Linked DNA regions of Homo sapiens: regions 2, 3, 4 and 5 are each linked to region 1. Evidence: promoter capture Hi-C in 16 types of primary human blood cells and fetal thymus (Javierre and others, 2016). All regions are on one chromosome and are shown on one strand. The core of a region is centred on a gene start or on the middle of the fragment in contact, and the rest is flanking DNA. Distances in the headings are between cores, read along the strand shown.

Evidence for each region. The method cuts DNA at HindIII sites, captures the fragments that hold promoters and counts their contacts. A CHiCAGO score of 5 or more calls a contact.
Region 2: a fragment that was not itself captured here is called in contact with the fragment with the promoter of KRTAP10-1 in region 1 in 4 of 17 cell types (naive CD8 T cells, total CD4 T cells, total CD8 T cells and 1 more); the score reaches 8.3 in naive CD8 T cells.
Region 3: a contact is called between a fragment that was not itself captured here and the fragment with the promoter of KRTAP10-1 in region 1, in 5 of 17 cell types (total CD8 T cells, naive CD8 T cells, total CD4 T cells and 2 more). The highest score is 9.7, in total CD8 T cells.
Region 4: a fragment that was not itself captured here is called in contact with the fragment with the promoter of KRTAP10-1 in region 1 in 5 of 17 cell types (total CD8 T cells, naive CD8 T cells, naive CD4 T cells and 2 more); the score reaches 8.4 in total CD8 T cells.
Region 5: a fragment that was not itself captured here is called in contact with the fragment with the promoter of KRTAP10-1 in region 1 in 3 of 17 cell types (naive CD8 T cells, total CD8 T cells and naive CD4 T cells); the score reaches 6.0 in naive CD8 T cells.

What each region holds. Positions count from the first base shown.
Region 1 is chr21:44,537,413-44,541,976 of GRCh38, reverse strand. KRTAP10-1 (keratin associated protein 10-1) reads left to right here and starts at 1,782. Exons shown (of 1, transcript NM_198691.3): 1 at 1,782-2,996. The coding sequence starts at 1,827. The coding sequence ends at 2,675. The region is part of intron 2 of TSPEAR (thrombospondin type laminin G domain and EAR repeats); the gene reads left to right. RefSeq lists enhancers at 2,380-3,044, 3,398-3,897. The HindIII fragment of the contact is 15,900 bases long and covers 1-4,564 here.
Region 2 is chr21:44,782,039-44,786,602 of GRCh38, reverse strand. The region is part of intron 3 of UBE2G2 (ubiquitin conjugating enzyme E2 G2); the gene reads left to right. Among named protein-coding and RNA genes, the nearest start is that of UBE2G2, 17 kb to the left of the region's middle. The HindIII fragment of the contact is 5,266 bases long and covers 1-4,564 here.
Region 3 is chr21:44,749,208-44,753,771 of GRCh38, reverse strand. No RefSeq gene overlaps it. Among named protein-coding and RNA genes, the nearest start is that of TSPEAR, 40 kb to the right of the region's middle. The HindIII fragment of the contact is 6,978 bases long and covers 1-4,564 here.
Region 4 is chr21:44,724,185-44,728,748 of GRCh38, reverse strand. No RefSeq gene overlaps it. Among named protein-coding and RNA genes, the nearest start is that of TSPEAR, 15 kb to the right of the region's middle. The HindIII fragment of the contact is 2,630 bases long and covers 2,000-4,564 here.
Region 5 is chr21:44,689,733-44,694,296 of GRCh38, reverse strand. The region is part of intron 1 of TSPEAR (thrombospondin type laminin G domain and EAR repeats); the gene reads left to right. Among named protein-coding and RNA genes, the nearest start is that of KRTAP10-12, 5.2 kb to the left of the region's middle. The HindIII fragment of the contact is 899 bases long and covers 2,026-2,924 here.

The DNA of each region.
Region 1 (4,564 bases), core at 533-3,032:
TTGGTCAGTTGGTCTTGTCTTCTAATATCCCTAGTAATTTTTTGACTGCATGAAGGACTTTATGAAAATTTATAAGATGATTTGAGCCTCTGTTGATGCTGCTGTCTCCAGAAGAGATCACTTTTGTTTCTGGGAGGCAGTTAGGCTACAGGCAGATCATATGAGTTCAGTGCGAGTTTATTTAAAGATAGGTTTCATTCTTTCTGGTTTTTCCTTCCTCCTAGGGAGTAGCCCTTCACTTACATTCAGCATTTCCAACTGAAAGCCTAGGGTGTTTTTGCTAGAATCCCTCCACCTTGTCAGGTCCTGAACTCTGTGGTTTTTTTCTTCTAATTCCATGAGACTACTAAAAGCTCTGCTCAGCTGATCAGGCTCTCGGCCTCTTGGCTGTGGTCTGTAAATTGGTAAATGCCTCAGTAAGAAAATCCACAAGGAATATTGGACTCACTTCTGTGCAGTTTCTCTCTAATGCGGATTCACTCACTCAAGTCTCAGCTGTCTTGATACCTCCCGGCCCCTTCGAACAGAGATTTTGTTTGTAAACCAGATTTCCTAATATTTCTCAGCTAGATGGCCAGTCTGATGTAAGCCAGTTCCCCACACACGAAAGGAGAACTTGACAGAGCATTTTATACAGCATAAGAAAAAGGTGGCACAATGGAATCGCGTTCAGAGCTCAAAATTACTCTTCAATAATTTCTCCAAAAAAGTTTATTATTTCAGCCCATTTTTATAAAGGCTTTTCCTTGGGCCAGGCATGATTTTAGGCCTTTGAAGACTGAGTGGTGAACAAGACAAACACACTCCCTGCTCACATGCAGCTTACGTTTGAAGAAAGGAAGCTGAGGACAGCAAGGACAATGAACAGGAACAGGGAAGACACGTGGTGCAGAAATACTGATGATGGCCAGGCACCGGGCTCACGCCTGCAATCCCAGTACTTTGGCCAAGGCAGGAGGGATCACTTGAGACGCCATCTGTACAAAAAAAAAAAAAAATAAATTTAAGAATATTGATAACGGGACTTGAGTTATCTATGGTTGAAGCACATCATAAAGCTATGGCCTTTAAGAGCAGAACCAAATCCATGGGCCAGTTCAAAACTTTTCTTTCCTGTCCGAAACCCAGTCCTATCCCCAGCGTTCCCACACCAACGTCTGAGTGGACCTCGGGGAAGGCCGTGGGGAGGGGCATGGCCTCTCCTTCCTTGCTCCCCTTCTCCCTGTTTGGGGCTCTAATTTCTTCAGTGATGGGGATGGGGGAAGGAATGTGCAGGGCCACCACTGTGGGGTTCGCTGGCCACTGCTGCACCTTCTCTCCGGCTGCTCCAGTGATCCTGTGCTTCTACCAGCTGCTTCTGCCTCTTCAGTGAGGACCCGCTTTAGGGAGGAGACGCCCCCACGATCGTGAGTGGGACAGCTCTCACCCTGGCATGCCACACTTTGCATAAGGCTGAAGGGCCACCCCTGCCTCCGCAGCCCCCTTCTTACAACCCGGACTGCACTGGTGGCGTGCTGGGACCAGGTCCACCTCCACTCTTGCCCCCAGGGATCCACATGGGACAGGCTACAGCCCAGACAGGACAGGAGATTTATGACCTGGGCCACATCACAGGCAAACAAACATCCCTAGTCATGACACACGCCACCTCTCAGCAACCAGGAAGGGGACGCTGTGGGCCCTGGAACAACAAGGCCAGAAGGGGTATAAAAGCAGAGCCCCACGAAGCTCACACACTCACTCACACACTCAGTCACTCACACACACACTGACTCCCACACTCACTCACTCACACCTCCCGCAGCTCACCTCCTCCCCACCCCAGCATGGCCGCGTCCACCATGTCCGTCTGCTCCAGCGCTTGCTCCGACTCCTGGCAGGTGGATGCCTGCCCAGAGAGCTGCTGTGAGCCCCACTGCTGCGCCCTCAGCTGCTGCGCCCCGGCCCCCTGCCTGACCCTGGTCTGCACCCCAGTGAGCCGTGTGTCCAGCCCCTGCTGCCAGGCAGCCTGTGAGCCCAGCCCCTGCCAATCAGGCTGCACCAGCTCCTGCACGCCCTCGTGCTGCCAGCAGTCTAGCTGCCAGCCGGCTTGCTGCACCTCCTCCCCCTGCCAGCAGGCCTGCTGCGTGCCCGTCTGCTGCAAGCCTGTGTGCTGCCTGCCCACCTGCTCTAAGGATTCCTCTTCATGCTGCCAGCAGTCTAGCTGCCAGCCAACTTGCTGTGCCTCTTCCTCCAGCCAGCAGTCCTGCTGTGTGCCTGTTTGCTGCAAGCCTGTGTGCTATGTGCCCACCTGCTCTGAGGATTCCTCTTCATGCTGCCAGCAGTCTAGCTGCCATCCAGCTTGCTGCACCTCCTCCCCCTGCCAGCAGGCCTGCTGCGTGCCCGTCCGTTGCAAGCCTGTCTGCTGCAAGCCCATCTGCTGTGTGCCCGTCTGCTCTGGGGCTTCCACTTCATGCTGCCAGCAGTCTAGCTGCCAGCCGGCTTGCTGCACCACCTCCTGCTGCAGACCCTCCTCCTCCGTGTCCCTCCTCTGCCGCCCTGTATGCCGGCCCGCCTGCTGTATGCCTGTCTCCTCCTGCTGTGCCCCTGCCTCCTCCTGCCAGGCCAGCTGCTGCCGCCCGGCCTCCTGCGTGTCCCTCCTCTGCCGCCCCGCGTGCTCCCGCCCGGCCTGCTGAGGCCTCTGCTCAGGCCAGGAGTCCAGCTGCTGATGGGCACCCGCCCTGGGCCAGCTGGGCTCAGTTCCTGACCTGGGTTAGGTGGCTTCCCCCACCTAGGACGGGTCCCCGTGTCTCCCCTGTGCTGAGGTGACCCCCCCTCCTTGCTCCCAGGAGCCTCCATCCTTGCAGCTCCCCAGCTCTTGCCTTCCAGCAGGTGCCCACCTGCCTGCTAGGTCCCCTGTCCTCCCTCCCAGCTTCTCTGCTCTGGGTCACTTGGCCTCGACTTGAACCTCTCAGCACCTCCTCCTGCTCCCCAATAAACTCTCCTTGGTCACCTGATTCTCTTTTCTGTTGTGTTCCTGGGGGACACATGGTTTTGAGCTGACATTGGTCTCCTCCAGCCATGATTATTTTTAGGAATGAGTGACTTAACCTAGAAGTCACAGGGGACAGTGGCCTAACTCCTCCAGGGGGTCACCAGGTGGGACTCACGGTCACTCCCAGGAAGGCTCAGTCCCAGCTCAGCCCCTGTGCCCGGGTCTTCCTGAGCCTGGTCATTCGCTGTCATGCCCTGGGCTGTGGGGCTCTCCAGGCCCCAGGACTGTCCCACCCACTCTCTCACCTGGGAGAGCCCACACTGCAGGGTCACCTTCCGGGAAGCTGCCCTGGGGTCCGGGCACTGCAGCCTCCAGGCCTGGTCACCCTCCCTGTGTGCCGCCCGCCCGAGGGTTCTGCCCGTTTTAGCAGCAATGCGAGGGGAGAGGGAGGGGCTGCTGCACCTGCGCAGGAGACAAGGGACTCGATGGGAACAAAAGCATCATGGGGTGGGCGGATGGAGGCACAGGATTCCCCAAAACCCTGGCGCTGCCCAGGTTCTCCTCTTGGGGGGGGGGGGGGCAGCAGTTTCCACACAGGTGTAGGGACAAGGAGCCTGGGTTCCCACAGATGATGCCGGTGCGGGCACACAGTCAGCGACACTCTCATCTCTCTAAGGCTTGGTCCACGCGGGGAGCATGAGCTGCCTGTGATGTCCTGTGGGAAAGGCCGTCAGCGGGGACAATGGTAAGATCAGGCAGCGCATGGGGCTCCGCCACCCTGGGTGGGTGCAGAGCAGTCAGTCCTCAGACTGTGAGACAAACTCCTCCAGGCCAGCTGCAGAGACCAAAACGCTGATGAGAATGCCCGCCCCTGGGATGCTGCAGTCACCCCACAGCCAGGCCGGCCGCAGCCTGATGGACATGGTGCTGCCACGGCTGTGGTCAGAACAGGCACAGAAATGCCACAGAAAGTGAGGTGGAGCCTGGGGGGCGGGGTCTGCGTGGTTGCTGCCCAGGGCCCTCAGTGGCTGGGGGACCCCGCGTGACCCCGGCTCAGCCTGATCTGCTCTCAGCTCCCTGCCCTCCGCACTGACGGCTGCTGGGAACCCACTATGGCCTAAATGCATGGCCGTCCACACTGAAAGTTTCCTGTTCACATTCCTAGCCCATTTCTTATCAGGCTATGTGTGTTTTTCTTGTGGATTTAGGGCTGGGGATCCTCTGTCCATCATATGCCCTCCAAATATTTCCAACCCATCATTGCTTCTATACAGCACACTCCCCGAGATTGGAAACAGGCCTAATTTTGCTGATATTGGTTTCATTGTTATTGCTTAGATTTAACTTTTTGCCCCATTTGCTGATATGACTTGTGTGAGGTATGACGTATTAATCTTTCTCTTCCACCAATAGCCAACTGTCCTTTTTTAAAGTTAGTTTATTCTCTCCATCTCCCATTTGAAACATCTCTTTTGTCTGAGAAATGTTTGTATAGCCTGCTTCTGAAATCCCTATTTTGTATTTTGTTCTATTCATCTCTTGATCTATCCTTGCATCCATTCCAGCTGTTTTATCCATGTTATTCAGCTT
Region 2 (4,564 bases), core at 1,329-3,828, 240 kb before region 1:
TATGGGTTGGTCTGAGAAACAGATTGCAGCTAAGTGTTGTCTGTGGAGGTTAAATTGATATGAAAATTAGTATTTTGGATAAACAAAATGTTTTTAAAAAATCATCAAACGCTATTCAGATGGTACAGCACGCCTGCCATTTCCTGATCATTTGTAATATCCTAATTGCTTGGGCCTATGGCACATGTTTTTTCGGTGTCTGAAGGTTTCTGGAATCTGTGTTTGTGTGTAATGTGGCCCCCAAGGCAGTTATGAGATGGATGGCGAGTCCCACAGTCTGGGCTGTCCTCATTAGTGGACTGTGCGGCTGTATACTTGTATCGGGGCAGCTCTTTTTATTTCTGTAGAAGCAGGAGATCATATACATGAACTGATGTGTAACCTGCTTGTTTCATGTGTTAATGCAGGCGCACCTGCACTCATGCCAGCGGGGCAGCACGCCTGCTGCAGGGGCCCAGAGTGGCGGGAGGCCTGTCTGTGTGTAGAGGTTGAAGGCGCCTGTCGTGTCTGCAGTTATTTGTGGGGTGTTGGCTCCTCCGTAGGCCTATTTGGAAGCTCATTAAAGGAACAGTTGAGCCGTCCAGTGTGGTTTTAAAAAAATGTTCATTGTTAAAAATCGATTAGGGTAACTATTACCAATTTTAAATAAACAGTGTAAAATTAAACCAATATTTTGAAAACCTGTCTTAAAAAGTAATTAGAACTATTTTTAGGTAGAGCACTTCTGTGTTTGAACAAGGCTTTTTGCATTAGTTTGGAATTCCCCTGCTTGAAGATCCTAGTGAGTTTGTGGGTTTTGGTCCTGTTCCAGACCCTTCACAAACAAGAGGCCGTTTACAAGTGCACTTAAAATGCCTATTAGGGAATTAACTGTCCTCCCATCGATTTGTCTCACCCTGCTATTTTGGCAGACATCTGGCCAAGTCTTTGCTCCTTGGTGATAAGTTTCTTCTTTTTCTCTTTATTCTTTGATGGCTTCCAGGGCCGCCTCTCTACCCTAGTATTTCTAAAACCCGTGCTTGCCTCACAGAAGTCGAACGGCTGTTGGTTTTTGCTGTTGTGCTTGCCTTAAGGGCCAGTGAAGAAAATGTCATTTTAGATATCTAAGCAACAAACACTAAGTGCCTTTGATATGTTAGGGCCCTTGTCTGAAGATACAGACATGTCAAAGATGCACTGAAATCTTTACCTTGGAAGACCAGGGTTGAGGGATTAGGATGGAGAATAGAACAGATTAGTGAATGAGAGGACTAAATAATGAGAGTCCGCAGGCTGTGTCTTTAAACACCGGGAATAACTCTGCTGACCCTGCCACGCTCATGGTGGAGTCTGAGCCTGCAATCAAATCGAGCGTGGCTGGGATGGCGGCACACCAGGGGATGTGGCCACCGTGGCTGTGGGTGCTAGCATGGCCTGCTGCTCTTGGCCCAGTCACTTTGCCTCTCTTTGACTTATTTGGATCAAAACAGAGAGGTTTATCAGCATCTTCTAGACAGATGGTTACAGGTCTTGCCCAGCTCTAGGGTCCATGGCCCGTGACCCCATTGCCACTAAGCCACGGTGACGGGGGTGTAGCTGCAGAGAGGGTGGGTGCCCTCTTTCATTGATGCACTTATGTGGGACAGAAGGAGTCCTAGACAGCTGTTCATCCCCAGTGGCCGGACAAGGCGTGGAGTCCCTTGGCGCTTGCTGTCCTCTGTGTCCTGCCCCAGCATTCCCAAATCAGCTGGCTTGGTGACCTTCTTGTCTGGTTCATGCCTGACTGCTGTCACCTCCCCAGACCAGTGGTTCTAGAGGCTGTGGTGAAATAAGAAGGACCTTCCTTTACTGAATGGTGTGTTTGGGGCCCAGTTGGTGGATGGATGCTCCCAGGTTCTCCAGCTGGCTCATGGCAGCCAGCTTGAGGGCTCCCAGGCTGCCGCGGCTTCTACCAGGAGCCCTTCTCACACTGGGGGCCAGTGTCCGGGGCACAGCAGCCTCCCTTTATGTCCAGGTTTCTTGTTGACTGAAGACTGTCACAGGGCATCTCTTGGCAGTATTATGCCTTGCTGAAATAAACCCGAGATAATAAAATAGGTGTTTATAATTTGTATTGTATGTAATCTCACCATAGCATTTTCTTCAACAAAAGTGTCACAAAGATCCCTATATGAAGAAGTTATTGCCACATTCATTGCAGTAATAATAATAAAAAAGGAAACATCACTGTTCCACATAATTTATGGAGCATCTATATAGAGTAATGCCATGTAGCTGTAAAACAGTTCAGGTGGAATTTTCATCCTGGCATGGAAAGATGTACACAATATAAATGGAAAAGGCGGATTCTAGAATAATAGGTCTGGAACCGTCTGTCCGTCCTTCCTTCCTCTCCTCTCCTCCCTCCTCTCTCTCTTCCTTTCTCCCCTCCTTTCTTCCCTCCCCTCCCCTCCCCTCCCTTTCTTATGGAGACATGGTCTAGCTCTGTCACCCAGGCTGAAGTTCAGTGGCCTGGTCACAGCTCACTGCAGCCTCAAACTCCCAGGCTCAAACAATCCTCCCACCTCAGCCCCACAAGTAGCTGGGACCACAGGTGCACACCACCACGCCCAGCTAGTTTTTAAAATGCTTTGTAGAGATGGGGTCTTGCTCTGTTTCCCAGGCTGGTCTCGAACTCCTGGCCTCAAGCAATCCTTCTGCCTCAGCCTCCCAAAGTGCTGGGATTACAGGCAGGATCCAAGGCACCCAGCCTAAACAGCTTTATTGAGATAATTTACATACTGTAAGTTTTACTTGCATTAAGTATAAAAGTTAGTGGTTTTAGTAAATTTCTAGAGTTTTGTAGTCATCACCACAGTCCAGTTTTAGAACATTTCCAAAAAGATTCTTATGTCTATGTGCAGACAGTTCCCATTCCAACCCCCAGGCAATCCCTGCTCTTTCCTCTGACTATAGATTTGCCTTTTCTGACTTTTCCTATGTGTGGAATCATACACTGTCTAATCATCTGTGCCTGGCTTCTTGTACTTGGCAGAATGTATTTGCAGTTCATCCATGTTATACCATGTATCAGCAGCTCCTTCCTTTTCCATTCCCCAGTTGATGGACATTTGGGCTTCCTACTTTTTGGCTCTTTTGAGCAATGCTGCTGTAAACACTTGTCTTGTCACACTGTCTGTGTGGACATGGAGTTCATTTCTCTAGACCAGATATAGAGGTGTGGAATTGCTGGGGTGTGGAGTAAATTTGCGTTTAATGTTTTAAGAAACTATCAGACTATCTTCCTAGAGTAGCTCACCATTTTGCATTCCCAGCAGCAGTGTATGAGCATTCCAGTTTCTCCACTTCCACACCAACACTGCTGTTGTCTGATAACAGCTGTTCTTGTGGGTGTAAAGTGGGGTCTCCTTACAGATTTGACTTGGATTTCCTTGACGACTAATGATGTTGAGCATCTCTTAATGGGCTTATTGGCCGTTCATGTATCTTCTTTGGTGAACTTCAGAACTTTTCCCCATTTTTATATTCGGTTGTTTTCTTGTTGATGGAACGTTAAGAGTTTTTAAAATATATTTTGATACAAGTCCTTCATTAGACATAGGATTTTTAAATATTTTCTTCCAATCTGCAACTCTCCATTTTGTTTTCTTAATAGAGTCTTTTGAAACTAAAAAGTTGTTAATTTTGATGAAGTGTGATTTTGCATTTTTTTTCTTATATAGAGCATGCTTTTGGTGTTGTATATAACCCAAGGTTGCAAAGATTTTCTCTTATGTTTGCTTGTAGAAGTTTTGTGTTTTTTCACTTTTACATTTAGGCCTTTGATCTATTTTGATTGACTTAGTGTCATGTATGGAGTTAGGTGGGAGTCTGTTTCATTCTTTTGTATGTGGTTATCCAGTTGTCTCAGCACCATTTGTTGAAAAGACAGTTCTTTCCCCATTGCATAATTTTGGCACCTTTGTCAAAAATCAGTTGACTATAAATGCAAGGATTTATTTTTGGACTCTGAATTGCATTCCATTGATCTATGCCTATCCTTAGGCCATTACTACACTGTCTTGATTACTGGAGCTTCATGGTAAGTTTTAAAATTGGGAAATTTAAGTCCGCCAACTTTGTTCTTTTTCAAGATTGTTTACTAGGCCATTGCATTTCCATTACATTTTAGGGTCAGCTTGTCAATTTCTACAAAATGCCTGGTGGGATTTTGATTGAGACTACATTGAATCTTTAGATAAGTTTGAGGGATATTGCCATCATATCAGTACTGAGTGCTCTAATCCATGAACATGGACTGTCTCTCCATTTATTTAGGTGTTTTAAAATTCTCAGCAATGCCATGATACATTTGAATTTTTAGAAATCCAGTTTTGTAGATTAGAGTATGTGAATTTATACACACATAGAGAAAAGCTGGAACAATAACCAAACTTAACTCTGGTTACCTCAAGGAGGTGATTTTGGGAGGGGGAGTGAGGGAGGTATTTGCTTTTTATTTTATATACTTCTGTATTTGAATATTTTCCAACATTCTTTTATTTTCCTAGTTAAATAAGGTCAAAGTTTATGTTGTAAAAGTGAT
Region 3 (4,564 bases), core at 1,077-3,576, 210 kb before region 1:
GACTCCTCTGAGAAGCTGCAACGATGAGAAATCAAGGATTGACTGAAACCGACCCCGAGCCCGTGCATCCTGCAGTCAAAGCCACGGCCCCCTCTTCACTGAGGGCCTCGCACAGTGGCCTGGGGCTGGCGGAGAGCTGGGGCTCTGGCACCAGACAGTCCTGGAGCTGCCGCACGAGCTCCGTCATGTGGGAGCAGCCGCCGTGCTTGTGGACACAGAGCCTGGCGCGTGGCAGGTGCTCTGCAGACAGCCCCGTGTTGTCCTCTTCATCAGCACCATCTCTCTCCCATGCTGCTGGACAGAACCGGGCCTCCCCCAGGAGCCTCTGAGGGTGGGTGCTTTGACACGGGATTCTACTACACAGCCCAGCCACAGACACGCAGAACAGGTAGCTGGGGCCCTGAGCGGTACTGACGGCGAAGATGTGTGATTTCTCAGGGTGCTGCTGCACTTTCATCTTTTACAGGCACAGACGCACGTCGAGACCAGTTGTGGGCTGCCTCATTAGCAGTGGCACCCGACTGACATCTCCTCGTGTTTTACACTTGAAAACCTGGAGTCACACTCGGAATGAGTCCAGCTTCCTCCCCTTCAGCCACCTGGAGATGCAATCATTTCCTTTATCTGGCTAGATTCTATCTGCCCCATTCAAAGCCACGGGCCTTTCCCCAGTTTTAATTACCTGTGGCAGGAGGTGACTCACGCAGCCTTGGAATCTAATGAGGCTGTTGCTGGTTAGACAGGTACACTCACACACATGCACATACCCTCACATGCACATACACGTGCACACACAGCACACATGCACACAAGCATGCGTGCACACGCACTCACACATGCACGTGCACTCATGCTCACACGCATTCATGGACACACATGTACTCTCGCATGCACACATAGCTTGTCGGCCCCGGGCAGTGAGGCCATGTGCAGTGGCAGAGGCTCAGCACATGAAGCAGCACTGAGCATTTCCTGGCTCCTGTTGCCAAAAATCACATCTTTATGCAGTAATCTGCCAACAAATTGTTAAATGTTAGAAGTTTACAAGTTCCCTTTTCCTTCCCCCCTCTTTCCCTTTGTCCCTCCCTCCCTTCCTTCCTCTCTCCCTCCCACTCTCCTTCCTTCCTGTTTCTCCCTCTCTCCCTCTCTTTCTCTCTACACTTATTTACTACCCATCAGGTGGCCGGCATTGTGCTTGGTGCTAGGATAACAGTGGAGAAAACGCTCGGCAGCTGTGGGCCTCGTGGATTTGGGGAGATGGACGATACACAAGTGAAAATGGATGAAGGGAGCATCCAGCGCTCCAGGCGGTGAGGAGCGGCCCAGGGCGCACCCCATGAACCCACACAGCCCCGGGCGGGGGGGAGGGGGCTTCCCATCTGCAGTAGCTGTAAAGGGTCGTTCTGGGAGCATCACAGGCAAAGGCCGGGCTGAGCAGAGGGTGAGGGGTCCAGGAGCCAGTGGGCCGGGGCCTCCTGCAGAGGCCTCCTGGGCAGAGCTGGTGGGGAGAAGTCTGGTGCCGTGGGCTCCGTCGGGCAGCCTGGGGGTTTGGAGCTTACCCTCCTGCGAGGAGAGACTGGAGGAGGTTGAGGAGCCGCACGCTGGGACTCGGGTCTTCAAGGGGTCCCTCTTGCTGGTGAGTCGGGTTGAGGGAGGAGGAGGCTGGGAGGCTGGGAGGCTGGAGGCTTAAGTGGGGGCGGGGGCGCCAGGGGGCACTATGGAGAGGGAGACAGCAGGTGCACTCAAGATGGATTCGGAGTGGAGTCCACAGGATGGGCCGATTGATCCGAGATGGATGCAAAGTGGAGTCCACAGGTTGTGCTGATTAATCTGAGTTGGATTCGGAGTGGAATCCACAGGATGGGCCAATGGCTTGGAGGGGGCGGAGGGAGAAAGGGAGGACGAGGGCTTGCCAGTGGGACACCGGGCAGGGGGCGGCTGGAGCCATGGGGAGGACCGAGGGGCCGGGAGCAGGTTTGGAGCAATGGATGTGGGGCCTGTTTTGGATGTGGGGCCTGTGAGATGCTACGGCGACACGTTTGTGTATTCGGCCACAGCACCCATTCTCCCTGATTTGGGTGGCGCCCCCTCCCCCATTTCCTTTAGGGAATCACCTCTTTCCATAGCAGTCGCACGGGACATGGGGAGCGTGTGGCCATTTCCTCAGCCACCGGGGTCCCACCTCCTGGCCTGTGAGCTGAGGGTCCCAGGGACAGAGCACACCCAGAAGCCTGTGCTCCTCCCGGGAGGCCCTGTGGCTGTGAAGAGGCTGTGCCCCCAAGACGCCATTTTGCAGAGCCCAGCCGGATGTTTTAGCGACACTGTGACCCCGGAGCTGGTGGAGAGGCACTTCATCCCCCAAGGGCGGGTTTCATTCTCAGCAGCACAGGGACCCTGGCGCTGGGCCTCTGAAGGTTCACCCTGCGGGGTGCAGGAACAGACATGGGATCTCCAGCGGCTGCAGGGAAGAGGTGCAAGCCCCAGCCAGCAGAGCCTCTGGAAGGGGTTAGGTCGCTGCGGGCGAGGGCCTGGGCATAAATGCGGCATTCTCGGTTTCGATGCTCCCCTGTAACTGGCATCTGAAGTTTCTGGTGAATTCCAAGGGAGGCCTCCTGCCAGGCTTTGCTCCCTTGGGGAATGTTCTCTGTAAGAGCCGAGGCCATCACGGTCTCTGCCTGCCTCTGACAATTGTCACACTCACTGACCTGTGCCTTGTGAGCTTGGTTCAATTATCTAACACACACCTGGTATTTAATTCTACCTTTTACAAAACACCCAGCCACGGTGGATCAAGGAATCAAATTTGCTTTTAAAAAATACCAGTATTATTGGAACAAGAAACCAGCTAGAGATGTGTGTGCGGCCGTATAAGCAACAGTGTCTGAGCGACTCTTATCACCTGGGCGGATGGAGTGCAGCCTTTGGAGGAAGCGTGGCTTTAGGGCACAGCACGTTCACAGGGAGGAAGCGGGAATGACAGCACATTCACAGGGAGGAAGCGGGGATGGAGAGGCAGGGGGCCAGTGTGGAGGGGTCGGAATGACAGCACGTTCACAGGGAGGAAGCGGGGATGGAGAGGCAGGGGGCCAGTGTGGAGGGGTCGGTATGACAGCACGTTCACAGGGAGGAAGCGGGAATGGAGAGGCAGGGGGCCAGCGTGGAGGGGTCCGGTGGTGTTGACCTCTGCCAACACACAGGGGTGCGGGGACACAGCCAGGCTGCTGCAGGGCCTCATGGGGTTGCAGGGAGCCCCACATCCATAGCAAGCAGGCCGTCCGCCCCGGCATGCACACGGCACACAAGGCAGGGACATTTGTTGGTTGGTTGGCTCAGCATGCACGGGCATCGCTCAGCCTGCCGGAGCAGGGAGTAGCCGGGATTTGGCCAAGGGCTTCCGAGCCCTGGGCAGAGGCTGGGCTGTGTACCCCATCCCTAGACACCACCACTGAGGACACAGCGCCCGGCCTGAGGATGGTTTCATTCCTGGGGCAGGAGGACTCTGGGTGACTGGCGCGGCGGGGTGCTGGCACCGGTGCGGGGAGGCCAGCTTCGTGGGGTGGGTGACTGGCGTTGCGGGGTGCCAGCCCGGTGCAGGGAGGCCAGCCGCGTGGGGTGGGTGACTGGCGTTGTGGGATGCCGGCCCGGTGCGGGGATGCCAGCTGCGTGGGGTGGGTGACTGGCGTTGCAGGGTGCCAGCCCGGTGCGGGGAGACCAGCCGCGTGGGGTGGGTGACTGGCGCTGTGGGGTGCCGGCCCGGTGTAGAGAGGCCAGCCAAGTGGGGTGGGTGACTGGCACTGTGGGGTGCCGGCCCGGTGCGGGGAGGCCAGCCATGTGGGGTGCTGCTTGGGTGGCAGTGTTTCTCCTGGAATCTCCTCACCAGTGGCGGGTGGGCACAGTGCGTGCTGCTGGAGGGGCCACAGGCCCTGTCCCAAGCTGGGGTCTCCTGGACCAGCCCAGAAGGAGTGAAATTTGAGTAACTGCAAGGAAAGGCCAAGAATTCCGCAGTCAGCTCACAGCCTTGGACGTGGCCCACAGGCAGGGACGGGGAGACCTCGCCGGCTTCAGAGGGTGTCAGGGACCTGGACCCTGGAAGCAAAGGTTAGGAGCAAGGAAGCAGCGCCACCCCTCACACCCCACCTGGAGGCCTCGGTGGGCCCAAGGCGCCGACATGGAGCTGGTGAACAGACATCCTCGCTGGGGCCCCTTAATCAAAGCCTGTGTCCCTTGTCTGGAGATCCCCAGTGACGCTCTGCCCAGCCAAGGAATCCAGGGCCACCCCCGTGAGGGGATCCGGCCTTCTCCTTGGGCTCCCTTGCCCCAATCCTGGCCTCTCTCTGAACCTGTGGCTCACAGCCAGGTGAGGGCACAGAAATACTGCGAGGTCTGGAAAGAAGCCGAACCCGGGTCTCCCCCGACCTGCCTGGGCAGCCGCAGTGCTTGCAGCGGGAGCTCCCCCAAGGATGTCTGTTCACCAGCTCTGTGCCGGCGCCCAGGCCCGACCCAGGCCTCCAGGTGGGGTGTGAGGGGTCGCGCTGCTTCCTTGCTCCCAACCTTTGCTTCCAGG
Region 4 (4,564 bases), core at 2,065-4,564, 190 kb before region 1:
ATCAATGCTGGGGGTCTATGGTCTCCACTCTCCCACCACAAACATCGCTGGTGGTGATGCTTAATGAGTTGCCATTTTGACTTCTGATGCTGAGAATAGCACTAATGCCAAGATATACTTTTTTTTTTTTTTTTTTTTTTTTTTTGAGATGGAGTTTTGCTCTTGTTGCCCAGGCTGGAGTGCAATGGCGCGATCTCGGCTCAACACAACCTCTGCCTCCGGGGTTCAAATGATTCTCCTGCCTCAGCCTCCCGAGTAGCTGGGATTACAGGCATGCGCCATCACGCCCAGCTAATTTTGTATTTTTAGTAGAGATGGGGTTTCTCCATGTTGGTCAGGCTGGTCTCGAACTCCTGACCTCAGGTGATCTGCCCGCCTTAGCCTCCCAAAGGATATGCTTTTATCTACCTACTCTTGTTCTGAATAATGACCTCGTGTGTCTTCTCTGAGGATGGTTTTTCCTGAGCCCTGGCTGCCAGGGCGTCTCCCAGGGCTGCAGGTGTCTCCAGGTCTCTCGTCCTCTGGGTCTCTCACTGCTGCCCCGGACTCCATCCCCTTTCCTGTCCCCTCCATGCAGGCTCCACTGTTCCCAGGACTCTCAGCTCTTCCTGCTGCTTGTTCACTCTGCTCCCGCAGCTTGGAAGCCTGTGGGCCACTTCCTGCCACTTGCCTGAAGGACGATGACCCCTCAGAGAAGCTCAGCAGCCCAGGACTGCCCCCATCTTCTCCGCCCACAGCACCCCTAGGGTCACGGTGCTGCCTTGCTGTGCCACCCGGCTCATGTGCCCCTCCCATGCCACTGTCACCAGTGCCAGGCCCTGGGAGCCCAGGGGTCTCTCTGGAGCAAGCACTCCCTCGGGGTTCGTGAGGCAAATGAATGATGTATGATCTCTAATACTGTCAGCCATTCTGATGGAAAGCGCTGGCACTGTGGTCCCTGGAAGTCCATTAGGACTGTGGTGACAGGCTGTCCTCGTGAGGTGTCCCTTCCTTCGGGGAAGCCTGGGGTCTTCTGACCAGAGGCCTCAGCCGTCCTCTGAGCTCTGTGGGCTGAGAGTTGAGGCTGGGCCCATTTGAGCATCACCTGGATGTGGGCGCTGAGCTGGAACTGGGATTTTCCAGGGACCAAGGCTTAGGAACAGCCAAGCAGTTCACAGGAGGCCAGAGAGGCTGCAGCGGAGGGGAGGCTGTGGCGGAGGGGAGGCTGTGGCAGAGGGGAGGCTGCGGCGGAGGGGAGGCTGCGGCGGAGGGGAGGGGGAGTTCAGGGCAGCTGTGCTGGGTGCAGCAAGGAGGCCTAGATCCTGAGTAGGAGCAAGTGAGGGGCACATGTCCCTCCAAGATGGAGAAGGACCCTGGGGGGACCAGCACCTCTGCTGGGGATGGAGCTGTGGTGTTTCTCAAAGTGGGGTCAGGGCACTCCCAGCCCATGCTGACCTCACAAGCTGGAACCCCCAGGGTTTTGTGTGCACTGGACTTTGAGAACCCTGTCCAGGAGGGGTCCCTTAGAGGAAGAGGCGGCAGGGCTGAGTAGGGAGGGGTGCCTTCAGGAATGAGGACTGTGGAGGGGAGTTGGTGTGGACAACCCAGATGGCTGTGCTGGCCCTTGGTGGAGAAAGGGACAGGCTTGGGGTGGGGAAGACTCAGAACTTGGCGGCTGTGGACCTGGGGAGGAGGAGCGGGTGTGGCTGGCTGCTCAGCTGCAGGAGCAGGAGCAGGCACCGGGAGCCTTTCCGGCATCTGTGATCTGCAGGGCAGCTGGGGCGGGCTCATGGTGCCCAGCAGGTGGGTCATGAGGGCTGTTGGTGAGACCCGGAATCAGCCCACCATGGGGATGGTGGGTACAATCCCTATGAGATGCCTGGGCACACTGAGAGCTCCTTATGGGATAAAGACTCCATCCCCACAGCCCCCACCACCACTGAGGCAGGCTCCCCCTCCCTCCAGCAGGCAAAGGCACTCACCCAAGCCCACACAGGAAAGATCTTCCCAAAGGAAAGCTTGATTCGTGACAAAGTCCACAAACTGCCACAAATTCTATTTCTAGTGAAGCTGAAAAAATGCACACTTTTTAAATAGCCTGCCTGTCCCTGAGTGCCACAAAACGCAATTTAAGGTAAACACGTGGGTGCCTCAGTGACAACATTTGCAACATTAACCTCGCTTTTAAAATTAATTTTTAAATTGAGGAATAACATACATATAAAATGTACCATCTGCACCATTTTAAAGCGTACAGCTCAGTGACGAGAAACACGTTTAGATTTCCCTCCTTTATCGCCCCTCCGCCTCCTTCCTCTGGGAACCGCCATTCCACTCTCTGCCTCCACGGGAGCCTCTGGTTTAGCTTCCACACGAGTGACAGCGTGAGATGTTGGTCTTTCTGTGCCTGGCTTATTGCGCTTAACATAATGACCCCCAGTTCCATCTATGTTGCTGAAAATGACAGGATTTCATTCTTTTCGATAGCTGAATAATATTCCATTGTGTATATTTACCACATTTTCTTTATCCATTCATCCACTGATAAGCCCTTAGGTTGATTCCGTATCTTGGCTATTGTGAACGGTGCTGCAATAAACACAGGAGTGCAGAGATCTCTGACATACTAATTTCCTTTCTTTTGGATAAATACCAGTAGTGGAATTGCTGGATTACATGGTAGTTGTGCTTTTCGTACTGTTTCTCATAGGGGCTGTACTGTGCTACCTTCCCACCCACAGTGTTCTACACCCTCACCAGCGTCTGTTATTGCCTGTCTTTCTGATACAAGCCATTTTCACTGGGCTGAGATGGTAATGCACTGTGGTTTGATTTGCATTTCTCTGCTGATTAGTGATGTTGAGCATATTTTAAAACACCTGTTGGCCTTTGTATGTCTTCTTTTGAGAAAAGTCTGTTCACATCTTTTACCCATTTTTAATCGGATGATTATTGTTTGTTATTGTTGTTTGGAGATAGGGTCTCACTCTGTTGCCCAGGCTGGAGTGCAGTGGCACAGTCATGGCTCCCTGCAGCCTCTGCTTCCCGGGCTCAAGCAATCAATCACCAATCCTCCCGCCTCAGCCTCCGGAGTAGCTGGGACCACAGGTGTGCAACAGCACGCCTGGCTAATTTTTGTATTTTTTGTAGAGACAGGGTTTTGCCATGTTGCCCAGGCTGGTCTCAAACTCCTGGGCTCAAGCAGTCCACCTGTGTTGGCCCCCCAAAGTGCTGGGATTACAGGTGTGAGCCACTGCACCTGGCTGCTTTTTTTTTTTTTTGGCCATTGAGTTGTCTGAGCTCCTCATATATTTGGGTTATGAATCCCTTGCCATATGGATAGTTTGCAAATATTTTCTTTGATTCTGTGGGTTATCACTTCACTTTGTCAACCTCACTTTTTTGAACTTGCCATTTCTGTCTTTGGCAAAATGTTAAGCAGGGCACAGGGTGGCCCTTGGGGAAGTCCACACAGTGACTGCAGCCTGGTGAGCCCTTTCCAAATGAGCCAGTCTCCAAGGCTTACCCCAGGCCCCAGGTCCCCGCGACACACTCCAAAAGCTCCAAATGAGCCAGTCTCCGAGGACTCAGGTCCCCGCAACACGCTTCAAAAGCTCCAAATGAGCCAGTCTGTGAGGACTCAGGTCCCCGCGACACGCTTTAAAAGCTCCAAATGAGCCAGTCTCCGAGGCTTACCCCAGGCCTCAGATCCCTGCGACATGCTCCAAAAGCTCCAAATGAGCCAGTCTCCGACGCTTACCCCAAGCCTCAGATCCCTGCGACATGCTCCAAAAGCATAGTCCTAGTTTAAGACTTTTTTTTTTCTTTTTTTTGAGACGGAGTTTTGCTCTTGTCGCCCAGGCTAGAGTGCAATGGTGTGATCTTGGCTCACCGCAACTTCTGCCTCCCGGGTTCAAGCAATTCTCCTGCCTCAGCCTCCTGAGTAGCTGGGATTACAGGCGCCCGCTACCACACCCGGCTAATTTTGTATTTTTAGTAGAGATGGGGTTTCTCCATGTTGGTCAGGCTGGTCTCGAACTCCTGACCTCAGGTGATCTGCCCACCTCAGCCTCCCAAAGTGCTGGGATTACAGGTGTGAGCCACTGCGCCTGTCCACTTTATCAGATTTTTAAAAATGTACTAGAAAATCATAAGAAGAAAAATAGCTCATAATCGCAAATGATCCCTTTTGGTCCTTCTAGAAAAGAAGTAATTCATGATTGAAACCTGGAATATTTAGATATTACAGAAATGTGCACAGAGCCAGAGCCTTCTCACCTGGCCCCACCACCTTCCCCACAGAGCCAGAGCCTTCCCACCTGGCCCCACCACCTTCCCCAAAGAGGCTCCTCTTGGATTCATTCTAGGAAGTCACTCCTACACACACGCCCGTCCACACTCACAGCCGCACCCACCCACACAGACCCTGAGCCCCAGTCAGCACCTGGCTGCCGGAGGGCACATCCTGCATCTGTGTCCTTAGAAAACCGGGTTTTAAAAACACCTTAAGATAACAAGCGTAGCACACCAATATGGAGGCCAGAATACTTGGAGGCAGTCTGGGATCAACAAGCCATCAGGCAGG
Region 5 (4,564 bases), core at 1,226-3,725, 150 kb before region 1:
TCACTTGGCACAATGTTTCCAATGTTTATCTGTGTTGCAATATGTGTCAGGACTTCTTTCATTTTTATGGATAAATAATATTCCTTCATACAGATATACCACATGTTTCTTTTCATGTGGAAATCTAGTTTTCCCAGCACCATTTGGGGAAGAGATGATTCCTTCTCCATTGAATGGTCTTGGCATTCTTGTTGAAAATCGGTTGACCATGAATGAATAGCTTTATTTCCGGACTCTTAGATTTGATTGCTTTTTGTGTCTATCCTTATGTTAGTACCACACTGTTTTGATTACTGTAGCTTTGCAGTAGGTTTTAAAATTGGGAAGTGTGAATCCATTCATCCATTCATCTGTTGGTAGATACTTGGGTTATTCATACCTTTTGGCTATTATGAATAATGCTGCAAAGAATGTTGACATACAAGGATCTATTTGAGCCTCTCTCTTTTTATTTATTTACTTATTTTTAGTTCTTTTGGGTGCTCCTTATTTCCTGAGTCATGTGGTAATTCTATGTTTAACTTTTAAGGAACCACCAAAATGTTTCCGCAGTGGTTGCACTATTCTACATTCCCACTGGTAAAGTATGAGGGTTCCAATTTCTCCACATCTTTGCCAACACTTGTTATTTTCCTTTAAAAAAAAAAAATTACAGCCATCCTGGTAGGTGTGAAGTAGCATTCATTGTGGTTTTGATTTCCATTTTCCTAATGAGTAATACTGTTGAGCATCTTTTCATGTACTTATTGGCCATTTGCATACCTTCACTGGAGAAATGTCTACTCAATCTTTTGCCTATTTTTTAGTTGGGTTGTCTTTTTGTTGTTGAGTCACAGTCAGATGTATGATTTGCAAATATTTTCTTTCATTCTGTGGATTGTCTTTTCACTTTCTTGACAGTGTTCTCTGATTCAAAAAAGTTTTAAATTTTGATGAAGTCCAATTTATTTTTTCTTTTGTTGCTGGTGCTTCTTGCGTAATATCTAAGAACCTAGTGTCAAATCCAAGGGAATAAAGCATTTTTCCCATCTTTTCTCCTAAGATTTTGATGGTTCCAGCTACCATATTTAGGGCATTGATCCATTTAGAGTTAATTTTTATATATGATATTAGGTAAGGGCCCAACTTCATTCTTTCCCATCTGTAAATCTAGTTTTCCTAACACCATTTGTTGAAGAGATTATTCTTTCCTTATTGAATTATCTTGACACTCTTGTTGAAAATCAGTTGGCCATAAATGTATGAGTTTATTTCTGACCTTTGAGTTCTATTCTATTGGTCCATATGTCTGTTCTTAGGCCAGTACCACACTGTTTTGATTACTGTAGCTTTGTAGTACGTTTTGAAATCAGGAAGTGTGAATCCTCCAGCTTTGTCCCTCTTTTTCAAGATTGTTTTGGCTATTCTGAGTTCCTATAATCCATATGTGCTTGAAGATCAGCTTTTTCATTTCTGGAAAAAAAAAAGACTTGGAATTTTGATAAGGACTGCATTGAATCTGTAGATTTCTTTGGGTAGTACTGCCATTTTAACAACATTAAGTCTTCTAATCCATGAACATGGATGTCTTTCCATTTATTTAGGTCTTCTTTAATTCTTTCAGCAATGTTTTACAGTTATCATTGTACAAGTCTCTTACCTCCTTGGTTATATTTGTTACTAGGTATTTTATTCTTTTGGATGCCATTGAAATGGAATTGTTTTTCTTAATTTCCTTATCAGATTTTTCATTGCTGGTGTATAGAAACATGCATGATTTTTGTATGTTGATCTTGTACCCTGAAACTTTGGTGAATTCTTTAATAAAGCTCTAGTAGCTTTCTTGTGGATTCTTTGGGATTTTCTATAGACATGATCATGTCACCCGTGAATAGAAATAATTTTACTTCTTCCTTTCCAATTTTAATGACTTTTATTTATTTATTTTTCTTGTTTAATAGCTCTGGCTAGAACTTCCAGTACAATGTTGAATATTGGTGGTGAAAAGGGACATCCTGTCTTGTTCCTAATCTTAGGGGGAAAGCTTTCAGTCTTTCACTGTCAAGTATAATGCAAGCTGTGGGTTTTTCATACATGCTGTTTAGCATGTTGAGGAAATTCCCTTCTATTTCTAGTTTTCTGAGTGTTTTAAAATCATAAAATGGTGTTGGACTTTGTCAAAGCCTTTTCTTTGTTAATTGAGATCATGTGGGTTTTTTCACTTCATTCTCTTCGTGTGGTATACTACATTGATTATTTTTAATCTGGAGCTATCTTTGCATTCCTGGGATAAATCCAACTTGGTCATGGTATATAATCCTTTTAATATGCTGTTGGAATCACTTTGCTAGTATTTTGTTGAGAATTTTTGCATCTGTACTTACAAGTCATGTTCGTCTGTGATTTTCTTTTCTTTTGATGTCTTATGTGGGTTTGGTATCAGCATAATGTTTGCTTCACAGAGTGAGTTAGAAAGTGATCCTTCTATTTTTTTCTTTCACAACTTGAGGAGGTTTTTGTTAAATTTTAAAAAAATGTTTGGTGATATTCACCAGTAAAGCTGTTGTTGGGTGGAGTGTCTATACATATCTTTTGTGAGTAACTGGTTTATAGTGGGTTCAGTTCTCTATTTCCTATTGACCTTCTGACTAGATGTTCTGTTCATTATTGAAAATGAAATATTAAAGTCTCCAACTATTGTAGAACTATTTCTCACTTGAATTCTGTCAATGTTTGCTTCATATATGTGGGGACTCTTTGTATGGTGCATATATGTTTCTAATTCTCATATCTTTGATGAGTTGAATCTTTTATCAATACATAATGTCCTCATGCATTTTTGCAATTGGAACAATATGGATGAATAGGTCCTTGATGTTCTGTCTCTCAGTTCTTAGGGTCTTAGTGTACGGATGGGGACATAAGGATTCTTGAAAAAATAAGCTTATTATAGAGAAAGTCAGCTGTGAGTAATGGCTGATACAACATATGTTGTTAACAGTTATACGTTAGAGACATAGGGGTGAGTGCCATTCTTTGCTATCAGCTCTGTTCCCTGGCCTAATGATGCACATGCTAATTCCGTAATCTCTTAGAGCTTGGGGAGAGAGAGGGACTCAAAGCAACAAGGTTGTAAAATCATGTTCTTAGGAGACATTTCAGATGTTACCTAGGTAAGGGGGTGAGCTGGGGAGAGAGAGAGAAGTGTGGAGAGAGGAGAGAAGGGGAGAGGAGGCGAGGGGAGATGAAGGGAAGGGAGGGGAGGAGGACAAACTAATAGGTGTCTGGATTCTCCATCCCACTTTAAATTAGAGAAGCTGTGTTTTAATCTGTTTTACAGACTTGACTTCTAGGTCAGATTCAGTTTGAAAAAATATTTCCACTACTTTAAAATATTTTGAAAAGAGCCTGGCATGGTGGTGCATACCTGTAGTCCCAGCTACTTGAGAGGCTGAGGTGGAAGGATCACTTGAGCCCAGAAGCTTGATGCTAGACTGACAACATGGCAAGACCACCCCTTCTCTATAAACAAACAGACAAACAAAAATGTAGAAAAGCAAATGACCACACCCCCAGAGGATAAAATACATGCTACTTAGCCTTAGAAAAACACATATGCTTACTTAATAGTTTTATGGTTAATAATTTGCTGTCATGTTTACTGCTTATCTTAAGAACTGCTTATCTTCTGTTTAACCTGTTTATTTACAGCATGCTCATCTTTGAAAGCGTGGGCTGAATGCTGACCTCCCGGACATCATGAGTGTTGTTCTGTGAGTCTGTAGCCTTCAGTGCTGCTGATGAGATGTCTGATGCTAATCTGATTTTTATTGCTTGTGGGTGACTTGTTCATTTGTTTGTTTGTTTGATTTTCTGGAAGCCCATGGGAACCACTTGTTATCTTTGATGTTATATCATTTCAACAGAGGACATATCTAGGATTTTTCCGTTCATTTTTCTTGGCATCACTTGGTTCTTTTCAGCCTGAAGACTGTGTCTTTAGCCTTGGGAAATGCTCCTCTTTAGGAGTTTATTTGTGCATCCGCTCATCATTCTCACTGTCCCGCTTTGTGGGACTCCCACACATCAGGGATTACATTCACTAGATCAGTCATTTATGGTATTTTTTCCTCATTTCTTTTTTATCTCTTTGACGTTTTGTTCCAAATCAGAGCGATTTCTCAACCTCATGGTGATGGTTAATACTGAGTGTCAACTTGATTGGATTGAAGGATGCAAAGTACTGATCCTGGGAGTGTCTGTAAGGGTGTTGCCAAAGGAGATTCACATTTGAGTCAGTGGCTGGGAAAGGCAGGCCCACCCTTAATCTGAGTGGGCACCATCTAATCAGCTGCCAGCGAATATAAAGCAGACAGAAAAAATGTGAAGAGGCGAGACTGGCCTAGCCTCCCAGCCTACATCTTTCTGCTGTGCTGGATGCTTTCTGCCCTTGAACACTGGACTCCAAGTTCTTCAGTTTTGGGACTCAGACTGGATCTCTTTGCTCCTCAGCTTGCAGACGGCCTATTGTGGGACCTTGTGATCATGTTAGTTAATACTTAGTAACCCCCCCCAAAATATATAT